Regions from separate parts of the Homo sapiens genome. Here region 1 is linked to region 2. Evidence: promoter capture Hi-C in human tissues and cell types (Jung and others, 2019). All regions are on one chromosome and are shown on one strand. The core of a region is centred on a gene start or on the middle of the fragment in contact, and the rest is flanking DNA. Distances in the headings are between cores, read along the strand shown.

Region 1 (5,436 bases), core at 2,681-5,180, 450 kb after region 2:
AGAATGATATTATTTCTTCCCCGGAGATTCCTGCCTTTCTCTGCCAGGCAGCTGCGGTGAGGCACTCGTCACTGCAGTCCAGTGAGGAGATGAGATGGGCTGGGGCTGGACTGTGGCATCGGCATCCGTCGACCCCAGTTTCAACGCCGTGTGGGCGAGATCTGTCCTGTGTGTCCTGGGCCTCCCTTAGGTGCTGACCCCACAGCACGAAGAGTGCCCTCCTCCCTCCGCCACACCCTTCGGTGCTCCGTGTGGAACACCGCGGGTAGAGAGGGCCATGGAAGGAATGCGGCTCACCAGCTCTTCCTGAAGCTTTATGGGCGACGCGAGAACCCGCTAACGAGTGAGGAACTTAAAACGTATTTATATGTAAGCAAGAAATGTTTATTATGGAGTAAAATATAAAATTCACATGACTCTTTTAAATAAAAGACTTCACCCGTTCGCTAGTCACTGCATGCCTGTCCATACTGGGAAGCATGCTGACTTCAGGTCTGCGGGCAGCCAGGCCCTCCTGCCAGCTTCCCCAAGGTGTACATCCGCCCTCTCTGTGTAGCTGGAAGAGCCTGACCACTCACGTCTCTCCAGGCCACAGATCCCGAAGCCCTTTTCTAGCTCTGTTCACGATTGCTCTTCCCCTCACAGGCCAGACGCAGCTGTCCCGCGCAACATGGCTTCTGTGGGAAGGGGTCAGAGTTTGAGGCACCCCTTTTAGAAGGGAGGCGCTGCAGACTCTTGAATGTGAACCATGAGAACGCTGTGCCTGGAGCCAGGAGCCTCCGCCACGGGCCCCAGTGCCTGCTCATCTTCCTACCGAGTGCTTCCTTTCCTTCGTAGGTTTGGGAAAAGTTCTTAAGTTCTGAAACGCCGCGGATCAATGTCTTTATGGCAGTGCCTACAATATACACCAAGCTGATGGAGTACTACGACAGGCATTTTACCCAGCCGCACGCCCAGGATTTCTTGCGTGCAGTTTGTGAAGAAAAAATTAGGTAAGTGAAAAGAGCCCACTTTCTCGTTCAGAAAGTCTTAAAGATCAACAGATACGACTTATTTCTAATAAATCACTCCTACTAAGTTCTGGGAAGCAGTGCTTTCCATTTCCTTTCAATGTTCCCTCTCTCTCTACCCGTCTCCGTCTCTACCTCTCTAACTGTCTCTCTCTCTCTCTACCCGTCTGTATGTATATCTGTAATCTCTTCCACGTCGATAGCTGCCTGGATTCTGTATCGCTCTCTCTGTCACACTCTGTCTCTCTATCTCTCTCTGTCTCTCTTTGTCTCTCTCTCTCCATCTCTCCATCTATCTGTCTTCTCTGTCTCTCTTGTCAGACTCTCCATCTCTGTCTTCTCTCTGTCTCTCTCCATCGCTCTTCATCTGTCTCTCCGTCTTCTCTTTCTCTATCTCTCCTGTCTCTCCATCTGTCTCTATCTCTCCATCTGTCTTTGTCTCCGTCTGTCTGTCTGCTCTCTCTCCTGTCCGTCTCTCTCTCTCTCTGTCATGGCGTCTGAAGGACAAGGGTGAGGACAGTGAGCTGACCCGCTTGCTCCTGCTTCATCTGCCCACATGTCCCACGGCGCCTGCCTCTCCTATGCAGTCTCTCTGCCTTCGTGGGCAGCCCTGTGAGGCCTCCTGCCTGGGGCACGTTCTGCTGCTTTTCCTCTCAGCCCCGCTCCTCCCCTCCCAGCTCCCTGGATAAACCCCTCCCTCCCAGGACAAGCTGGTCTTTTGGGCCACCCAGGGGCGTGTTTGCTCTGCACTCTCCCATGAACCTGCAGGCGTGGGAACGTTTCTTTTCCCTCGTGGCTGTTGAGGTGTGGTTCACTAACTGGAAACGCACACGTGTGGCTCAGTGAGTCTTCACACGCATCACAGGCCCGCACCTCCAGCAGAGTCGTGGGTGGGGTATTTTTTCTTTTTGTGAGAGGGAGGGGTGGCGTGGAGGGTGCACTGCAGGAACTGAAGGCTCCACTGCCATCCAGTTTCCAGTGGGATGTGTGTGTCTGTGGCTGCCGCGCGCTCCTCCCAGTCCCCAGGAAGTGCACAGGGAAGCGGCACCTTTGTTCCTGGAGAGAATTCCGGGTTGTCCAAGGCACATGTCTGAACCGCTTCGCTCTCTTTGCCGTTCCCTTGCCCCTTTTCTGTGAGGCCACCGGAGCCCATGGTTTTGCTGCTGCTACTGCTGGGATACCCTGGGGCTGGGCAGGCCCCAAGCTGAGCAGGGTGAGCACAACGTTTTACCAAATCTAAGGAACCAAGGGCAAGAACGAGGTCAGTGAAGGAGAGGATCAGGTGATTTCTGGGGTGACAGAGGCAATGAGACCTCGGCCATCTGGATCTCCCAGCGGGGGTCCTGTCAGTGGTGCCTCCTCGTAAAGCAGGGGCAGCAGCAGGGACCACTCCGCTCAGACCGCAAACAAAAGCGCCTTCCCTACTGCCCGTGAGGCTGCGGGAAATGCTGTGTGAGAGCGCGGGGACTCGGAGTTCTCAGGGCCCGTGTTCTCCTGCCAAGCCTGAGCTGACCCTGTGGGCCAAGATGGCTGCAGTTCTGCGGGTGGTTCTGAGCCCCTTGGGTGTGCCCGGCCCCACCCCTTGGGTGCCGCGGCCATTCACCCATGTCCGCGTTCTGCTGCAGAGCCTGCAAGCTGAGCCGGCTGTAGTCCCCGGATGTGCCTGGCCGCAGCCTGCAGCGCCGTGGCTGTTCACCCGTGATCAGCTCCGTGGTCGGCAGCTGCACGGTCACTGCTGTTCTTGAGCGTGGTTGTGAACAGCGCAGGAACTTTGCAGGGGACACCGCGGACCCTAAGCACATTGTTTACCCTCATTAGCTGTTGGACCTGCTTCCTTCTAAAATACACCCAACAGATCGTTTTCAAAAAACAAAGTCACGCCGTAGCGCAGACTGCAGCGTTGGTCCCGGGTGTCGCACAGTGGTGCTGTACCCACGGCCTGGGGCTCCTGCACTCGTGAAGGAGCTGCCACTTTTGCAAGCAAGGGCCGCCTCCTGAGGGGCTAAACCTGCCACCTTTGCACGCGAGAGCCACGTCCCAAGGGGCTAAACCTGCCTTTGGTTGTGCCGCGTAGGCTGATGGTCTCAGGCTCAGCTGCCCTGCCCCTCCCAGTGCTGGAGAAGTGGAAGAACATCACGGGCCACACCCTGCTGGAGCGGTATGGCATGACCGAGATCGGCATGGCTCTGTCCGGGCCCCTGACCACTGCCGTGCGCCTGCCAGGTACGAGCACTTCCCACAGCTGCGTTCCTCTTCCACTGTGCTCTGAGCCCCCCAAGGTGGGCCAGTCTCGAACCACCCACATTCGGACTGAAGGGCGGCATGGAGGATGCTCCCCCGTGGGACAGGCCACTCGGCCAGGAGAGCACTCAGGATGCACTGCGACCTGTCCCCTCTGGGTAGATCAGCCTTCTCCCAAGTCTCAGTCGGGTGGATGGGGGAGGTGTCTGTGCTGGCCCCTGGCTGTATGACTGGGGAGACAATGGGAAGAACAGCAATGCCTGGAATGCAGGCGTCAGTGCATGTCTCAGAGGAAGGCGGGGGGCCATGCTGTTGGCTCCAGACCACATCAGCAGTGGTGGCAGCCTCCGTCTGTCTGGAGTCCGGGTGCCACACAGCGCCAGCAGCAGTGCCAGGAGAGGTGGGTGTGGTGGGCAGGGTGGGATGAGTCAAGCACCTGTCTTCCTTCTCTAGATGTGGGCTCCTGATACCGGGCCCCTCTTGTCCAGCCTTCCCTAACACATCCCATTCTGACTTTCATCTGACCCAACCATTTGAGCCCTGGGTCCTCCGCTGGGACTTCTGGGAACAGAGCCCACAGCTGGGGGGCCACCCTGCTGCTTTCTGCGCAGCCCTTCCAGTCTGTCTAGAGTAGAAGAGAGATCTCAGTGCAGACTTAAAGTGAGACCATCCCGCACATCTGTCTGTGCAGCTGCTTACCTGCAGACCCAGTAAAAATTCACCCCTCTGGCGTGCAGCTCTGTGTGTCTTAAGAAACATCATCACAGTCAAAATAGAGAAGGGTTCCTCGCCTCAGAAACTCCCTTCCTAGTGCTCAGCACCTCCTCCACCCCCGAGGCCTGGCCCCTTGTTCCTGTTTCTCTTCTTGTGGTTTTGCTTTTTCTGGGAGGCCACGTGGCTAAATCCTGCAGGACGTGGCCTCTGAGCCTGTCTGCTTCCGCCCGGCTTCCGCCCACAGTCAACTGCCTGTGCTGTGTGCGTCAGAGCCCGCGCCTTTCCCTGCTGAGTGGCATCCGTGGTGTGGGTGCGGCACCGCTTGTGACCCTGTTTTAAGCAATGACACGTGAGATGTTATCAACATTTGTGTGCAGGTTTCTGTGCGAACGTGGTTTTTTATTTCACCTGGGCAGATACCTAGGAGAGAGATTGCTGTGTTGTCTGAAGCTTTCAAGCTGTTCTCCAGAGCGGCTACACCATCCCCTTCCCCCTGCAATGGGTGGGAGGTCACGAGCACCTGCTGCTCCAGCGGGCGGTGGTGGTGTCTCGTTGAGTTCATGATTCTCTCATGATGGGTGGCGTTGAGCACCTCTTCCTGTTCGTGTCATTCCGTTTTCAACTGGGGCCTTTGTTTTCTTGAGTTTTGAGAGCTTTTAAAATTCGGGACCCAAGTGTCAGCTGTGCGATTTTAAATATCATCTCCCAGCTTGTGGTTTGTCTTCCCATTCACCTAACAGCGTCTTTAAAATCAGGAGTTTTAGGTTTTGGCCCGGTTTATCAATTTGTTTTGTGAATTGTCTGATGTCATATCTAATAAATCCTTGCGTAGCCCAAAGTCACAGAGAATAGTTTCAGCTCTTACGTTTGGGACCATGATCCATTTTGAGTTAATGTTTGTACATAGTGCGAGATACGGACCACAGTTCTTTTTTAGTGTGTGAATGTCTAACTTTTTAGCACTGTTCGTTGAAAAGACTCCCTTCTCCATCGAACAGCCCTTTGGATCTTTGTTGAAAGTCCGTCGACTCCTGAGGGGTCGGCTCCTGGGCTCTGCTCTGTCCCATTGCTTTCCGTGTGCCCTTTGGCTCATTCCATGCCTGCTTGGTTCCTGGGACTCTAGGGTAAGCGTGGACATGGGGGTTCAGGCCCAGGCAGGGACCAGCTGGTGCCAGGCAGCGATACGGTGCTGGGGCCTGCAAGGTGAGTGTGAGGGCTGGCTGGCTGCTGGGCTGGGAGGAGGAGAGACTGTAGGCTCACGCCCCTTTGCTGGGCCTGGGGAGCCATGGGGGCTGTTAAGTGTATTCTGAGTGTAAAGTCTCGGTTTGGCTGGGGCATCCTGAGCAGAATGACAGGGCCATGGCAGCGAGATCCTCAGCTGCCGTGCAGAGCTGCCAGTGGGGTGGCCGCACAGAGTGCAGTGCCTGCTGCAACAGTGCCCAGGGCAGTGGGCGGGTGGGGGCATGTTGTG
Region 2 (5,605 bases), core at 1,179-3,678:
GTAATACAAATAAATATAAAAATATAAATATAAAATAAATAAATATAAAAAATAAAAATAAAAGGCCAGACGCGGTGGCTCACACCTGTAATCCCAGCACTTTGGGAGGCTGAGGTGGGCAGATCACGAGGTCAGGAGCTTCAGACCAGCCTGGCTAACACGGTGAAACCCCATCTCTACTAAAAATACAAAAATTAGCCAAGTGTGGTGGCACGTGCATGTAGTCCCAAATACTCAGAAGACTAAGGCAGGAGAATTGCTTGAACCCAGGAGGCGGAGGTTACAGTGAGCCAAGATTGTGCCACTGCACTCCAGCCTGGGTGACAGAGCAAGACTCTGTCTCAAAAAAAAAAAAAAAAAAAAAAAAAATAGCAGAAGAGAAAATCCAGAAATAGACCCACACAAACATGCCCAGCTGATTTTTTTTTTTACAAAAGTGCAAAAGCAATTCAATAGAGGAAGGATAGCCTTTCTGGGCTAACTGGACAACCTTGGATCACAGACTTAAATATAAAAGGCAATCCTGTACAACTTGGAGGAAAGCAGACAATCTTCAGGACATAGGGCTAAGCAAAGAGGTCTTAGACTTGACATCAACATTGATACACTGAACTTCTTTAAAATGAAAAACTGGCTCTTTGTTAAGAGGACAAAAAGATTAGCTAGTTTGGGAGACAATACCTGCAAACCACATGTCCAACAGGAGACTAATATCTAGAATACATATTTTATTTTTTTTCAGTAGAGACGGGGGTTTCACCATGTTGGCCAAGCTGGTCTCAAACTCCTGACCTCAGGTGATCCGCCCACCTCAGCCTCCCCAAGTGCTGGGATTACAGGCTTGAGCCAGCGTGCCCAGCCTAGAATGTGTAATGAACTCTCCAAACTTATAGTAAAAAAGCAAACCATCCAGTTCGAGCGTGGACACAGAATATGAAGAGAGATTTCACCAAGAAAACCCACAGATGGCAAATAAGCACAAAGAAAGATGCTCCACGTCACTGGCCAACAGGGAAACGCGAATGAGGACCACAGCACCCTGCCAGCACATCCCTACCAGGACGCGGCTAAAATGAAAAACAGCAACTCCACCAAATGCTGGTGAGGATGCGGAAAATCTGCATCACCGTAGGGATGCAAAATGGCCCAGCCACTCTGAAAAACAATTAGACAGTTTCTTTAAAAAAAAAAAGTATATATATAATATATATATGTATATATACACACACATACATCTATATAGGTGTATACATATACACACACATATATCTATACAGGTGTATATATATATACACACACACAAACATACATATATACATAGAAAGAGAGAGAGAGACAGAGAGGCATATATATATATCTACCATCTGACCCAGCAACCGCACTCCTGGGCATTTATCCCAGAAGAATGGAAATGTATGTTCACACAAAAACCTGTATACAACATTTTATGGCAGCTTTATTGGTAAGGGAAACACAAAAAAATTAGCCAGTCGTGGTGGCGGCTTCTGGAAAGAAAAGAAAGAAAGAAAGAAAACGTTAGATGCTCTTTGCGGGGTGAGGCCTTGGCTAGAGAGAGGGTGGTCCATGGATTCCACGGACTGGCTCAGCAACAGAGGGGCAAAGCACTGATACAATCCCGGGGCACGTCCACATTCTATGCTGAATGAAATAAGCCAAACTCAAAAGATACTGGGTGGGCCACATAACTGCGATTCCAGTTTCAGAACATTTTGAAATGACGTTACAGAAATGAGTGGTCAGTGGCGGCCAGGTAACCCCGGCGCGAGGGGAGGGGCGGGGCTGTGAACGCACAGGTGCGGACCGGCCTCCCCGGCACGGATGTGGGCCTGCGGGCCCCCCATTACCGCTCCTTGGAGGTTACCGCTGGGAGAAACGGGGCGAGGGAGGGACACAGGGTCTCGGGCTGGGGGAGCAGTGGCGCGATTTCCGCTCACTGCAGCCTCGACCTCCCGGGCTCTGGCCATCCTCCCGCCTCAGCCTCCCGAGTAGCTGGAGCCACAAACGCGCACCACCACGGCGGATTCTTACGATTCATGGGAATCGATGATTGATGATTTCGATAGTTCGGTAATCGCTAATGGGCAGGCGCCGGGCGACCCTGCAGGGGCGGCAGCCGTCGCGGGGGAACGGGTGGCGCCGAGCTTGTCACGCGAAGGAGCGCGCGGCCCCGCCCGACCACCGCCGCGCCCCTCCCTGAGCCTCAGTTTCCCCGTCTGTCGAGGCCCTGGGAGGGCAGGACGGAGCGCGCCGCCGAATCAGCGCGCGACCCCCGCGTACCCGGCCTCGCTCCCGGCCATCCCCGTCCCAGGCCGGCCCGCGGCACTCACAGTACTTGATGACCGCGATGTTGACCGGCGCTGTACAAGTGACTGCCGCCAGCGGCTTCTCCGAGGCCATGGTCCCACCGCGCAGTGACCCCAGCTCCACAGCCACTTACGGCCCGCGATCCCACCCCAGAGGCCTCTGCCTCCTCACGCGCTACCACAGGATTGGCCCGTGCGAGCCCGGCTGCTCGCGCGCCGACCAATCAGCGGCGAGTCGGGCGCACGCATTACCTCTCAGCCAATGGACGGGATCGGACGATGGGTTGCTGACGTAGGTCCGCCCCACCCGCAGGGTGCGCTCGCCAGGCCTGGGGCGTGGTGTTGTCTGCGCAGGCGCCGTGTGCCCAGGCGCCTGGCGTCCGCGTCGGCGATCCGGGGTCTGGGCGCGGCGAGGTGGGCGCTGTTGCCTGTGGGGGCTACCTGTCTGCTGGTGCTGTGCGGGCTTGTGCGGGGCTGTGCGGCAGCTGTGTGGGGCCCGTGAGGAGCTGTGCGGGGGGCTGTGCGAAGGGCTGTGTGAGGCGCTGTGCTGGGGGCTGTGCGGAGACCTTGAGGCGCTGTGCGGGGTCCGTGAGGCTCTGTGTGGGGCGCCGTGTGGGAGACTCTGCGGGGGCCGTAAAGGGTCCGTGAGGCGCTGTGTGCGGGTTGTGAGGCGCTGTGCGGGGACCATGAAGGGGCCGTGGGGCGCTGTGCGGGTGCCGTGGGGCGCTGTGTGGGAGGGAGGCTGTGCGGGGCCGTGGGACGGTGTGCGGGGCTGAGGGGAGGGCGGGTCGCGCTGTGCCCTCCTTGAAGCTCTTGGACGGCCCCGCTGGGTATGGGGGTGCACACAGGCCCGAGGGCAGGCGCTGGAGGATGTATCCCGGGATCCACTCTTAACCCGGCAGCCGAAGGCACCCTGTCCCGCCGCCCACAGCCTTCTCCGCGCCATGTCCTGGGCCAGGATCCCCCGCCACGGGGCTCACACGAAAGACCCCGGGGCGGGGAAGCCCCGCAGCCCGGAGCTGGGTCCAACCTGCATTAAGGTGGGCGTCTCAAATACCCCCTGTAAGGCCCTGTAGGAGCAAAGCCTTGGACTGGGTTGCGGCGCTTGTGTGTGCATTGACTTCTCCTGTGAAACGTACAGGAACATTTAAGCGTGCCGTTCCCTGCCATTCATTCCAATCATGTGCCACGCCCCCACTATTTCTAGAGTTTTCTCACCCCAAACAGAAACTCTGTCCCCTTAAAACAATGACTTCCCATTTTCCCCTTCCCCTTTTAAAATTTTACCTTTAGTTTTTAAATAGCTCAGATTGGCTGGGCATGGTGGCTCACACCTGTAATCCCAGCACTTTGGGAGGCCGAGGTGGGCGGATCACGAGGTCAGGAGTTTGAGACCAGCCTGGCCAACATGGTGAAACCCTGTCTCTACTAAAAATACAATAATTAGGTGGGCGTGTGGTGCACGCCTGTAATCCCAGCTACTGGGGAGGCTGAGGCAGGACAATTGCTTGAACTCAGGAGGCGGAAGTTGCAGTGAGCCGAGATGGTGCTGCTGTACTCCAGCCAGGGTGACAGAGCAAGACTCCATCTCAAAAAAAAAAAAAAAAAAAAAAAAAACTCAGATTTCGGAAAATAGGGGAGTATGCAGTGTGAAGTGTCCACTCTGCCTAGCCACCTACTTCTATTACCAGAACCATCATACTTATAAATTCTTTATTTTTTTCCAGAAATAGAAAAAAAGTCTGTTTTTTTTCTCACTCTGTTGCTCAGGCTGGAGGGCAGTGGTACGATCAAAGCTCCATGCAGCCTCGACCTCCTGGCTCAAGGGATCTTCCCACCTCAGTTTCCTCAGTAGTTGGGACTACAGGTACACACCACCATGCCCGGCTAATTTTTTTCTTAATTTTTTTGTAGAGATGTGGGGGGGTCTTGCTATGTTGCCCAGGCTGATTTGAAGTCCTGGCCTCAGGGAACCCTCCCATCTCAGTCTTCCAAAGTACTGGGATTAGGTGTGAGCCACTCCACCTGGCCTGTCAATTCTTTGTGTATTTTTTCATTGACGTGCATAGTACAAGCACATAGCGTGTTCTCCCACCTTGCTTTTTCTACGTACCTTCTTCTTAGAGATCATCCCAATTTAGTAAAAAGCTTCCTTGTTTGTTGTCTAAATATACCTGGTCTGTCCTAGTTGGGTTGTTACTATAAACAGTGCTTTCCTACGTTGTTTGTGCACATGTATTTCTGCAGGAGAAATTCCTGGAAGTGGAATTGCTGGGCCAAGTGGGATGTGCCTGAGTACTTTTGATAGCTGTTGGCAAGTCGCCCTTTGTGGAAGTCAATTGATTACTCAGGTCTCTCTGCGGAAGTCTGAGAGTGCCTGCATGCCTTCACCAGCACAGTGGGTCACCTGCCAGAGTGACATGTGTTGTCTCACTGTTTTCAATTTGCATTTCAGATGGTGGTTATTTTTAATTTCTCTTGCAATCACAGCTGCTTTTCCATTTTATGCAAAGCCACTAAATCCTATTGAAGAGCTGATGTGGACTGTCTCGGCCTATAGTCAGGGTGTATTCCCTCAGCTACTCAGAGAGAGTGGGGCTTCCAGTCACCTCCTTCCTTCTGCCACGGCTGTGATGAAAAAGAAGACACAGGCTTGGTGCTTTGGGAGGCCAAGGAGGGCAGATTGTTTAAGTCCAGTAGAAAAAAAAACAATTTATTTTTGTTTAGAGACAGGGTCTCACTCTGTTGTCCAGGCTGGAGTGCGATGGCACCATCAGCTCACAGCAGCCTCAACCTCCTGGGCTCAGGTGATCCTCCCACTTCAGCCTCCCAAGTAGCTGTGATAAGTGCCACCACTCCTGACTAATTTTTATTTTTTATTTTGTAGAGATGGAGGTCTTACTGTGTTGCCCAGGCTGCTCTTTTTTTTTTTTTTAGACAGAGTCTCGCTGTGTCACCCAGGCTGGAGTGCAGGGGGGCAATCATAGCTCACTGCAACTTCTGCCTCCTGGTTTCAAGTGATTCTCATGCCTCAGCCTCCCAAGTAGCTGGGATTACAAGCGTGCACCAGCAGGCCCGGCAAATTTTTGTATTTTTAGTAGAGACGGGGTTTCGCCATGTTTGGCCAGGCTGGTCTCAGACTCCTTGCCTCAAGTGATACGCCTGCCTCGGCCTCCCAAAGCACTGGGATTACAGGCGTGAGCCACCATGCCTGGCGTTTTTATTATTATTATTTTTTTTTTTTTTTTTGAGACAGAGTCTCGGTCTGTCACCCAGGCTGG

The links. The method cuts DNA at HindIII sites, captures the fragments that hold promoters and counts their contacts. A contact is called where the count stands out against the background at its distance.
Region 1: a fragment that was not itself captured here is called in contact with the fragment with the promoter of MVD in region 2 in 1 of the 25 tissues and cell types used here (mesenchymal stem cells).

What each region holds. Positions count from the first base shown.
Region 1 is chr16:89,111,255-89,116,690 of GRCh38, forward strand. ACSF3 (acyl-CoA synthetase family member 3) reads left to right here. Exons shown (of 11, transcript NM_001243279.3): 5 at 838-992; 6 at 3,085-3,233. Among named protein-coding and RNA genes, the nearest start is that of ACSF3, 20 kb to the left of the region's middle. RefSeq lists enhancers at 2,713-3,912, 3,112-3,211 and a silencer at 3,307-3,601. The HindIII fragment of the contact is 3,135 bases long and covers 2,364-5,436 here.
Region 2 is chr16:88,660,663-88,666,267 of GRCh38, forward strand. MVD (mevalonate diphosphate decarboxylase) reads right to left here and starts at 2,429. Exons shown (of 10, transcript NM_002461.3): 1 at 2,349-2,429. The coding sequence starts at 2,418. SNAI3-AS1 (SNAI3 antisense RNA 1) reads left to right here and starts at 2,711. Exons shown (of 4, transcript NR_024399.1): 1 at 2,711-2,738. RefSeq lists silencers at 2,174-2,593, 2,934-3,093 and an enhancer at 2,674-2,723. The HindIII fragment of the contact is 7,255 bases long and covers 1-5,605 here.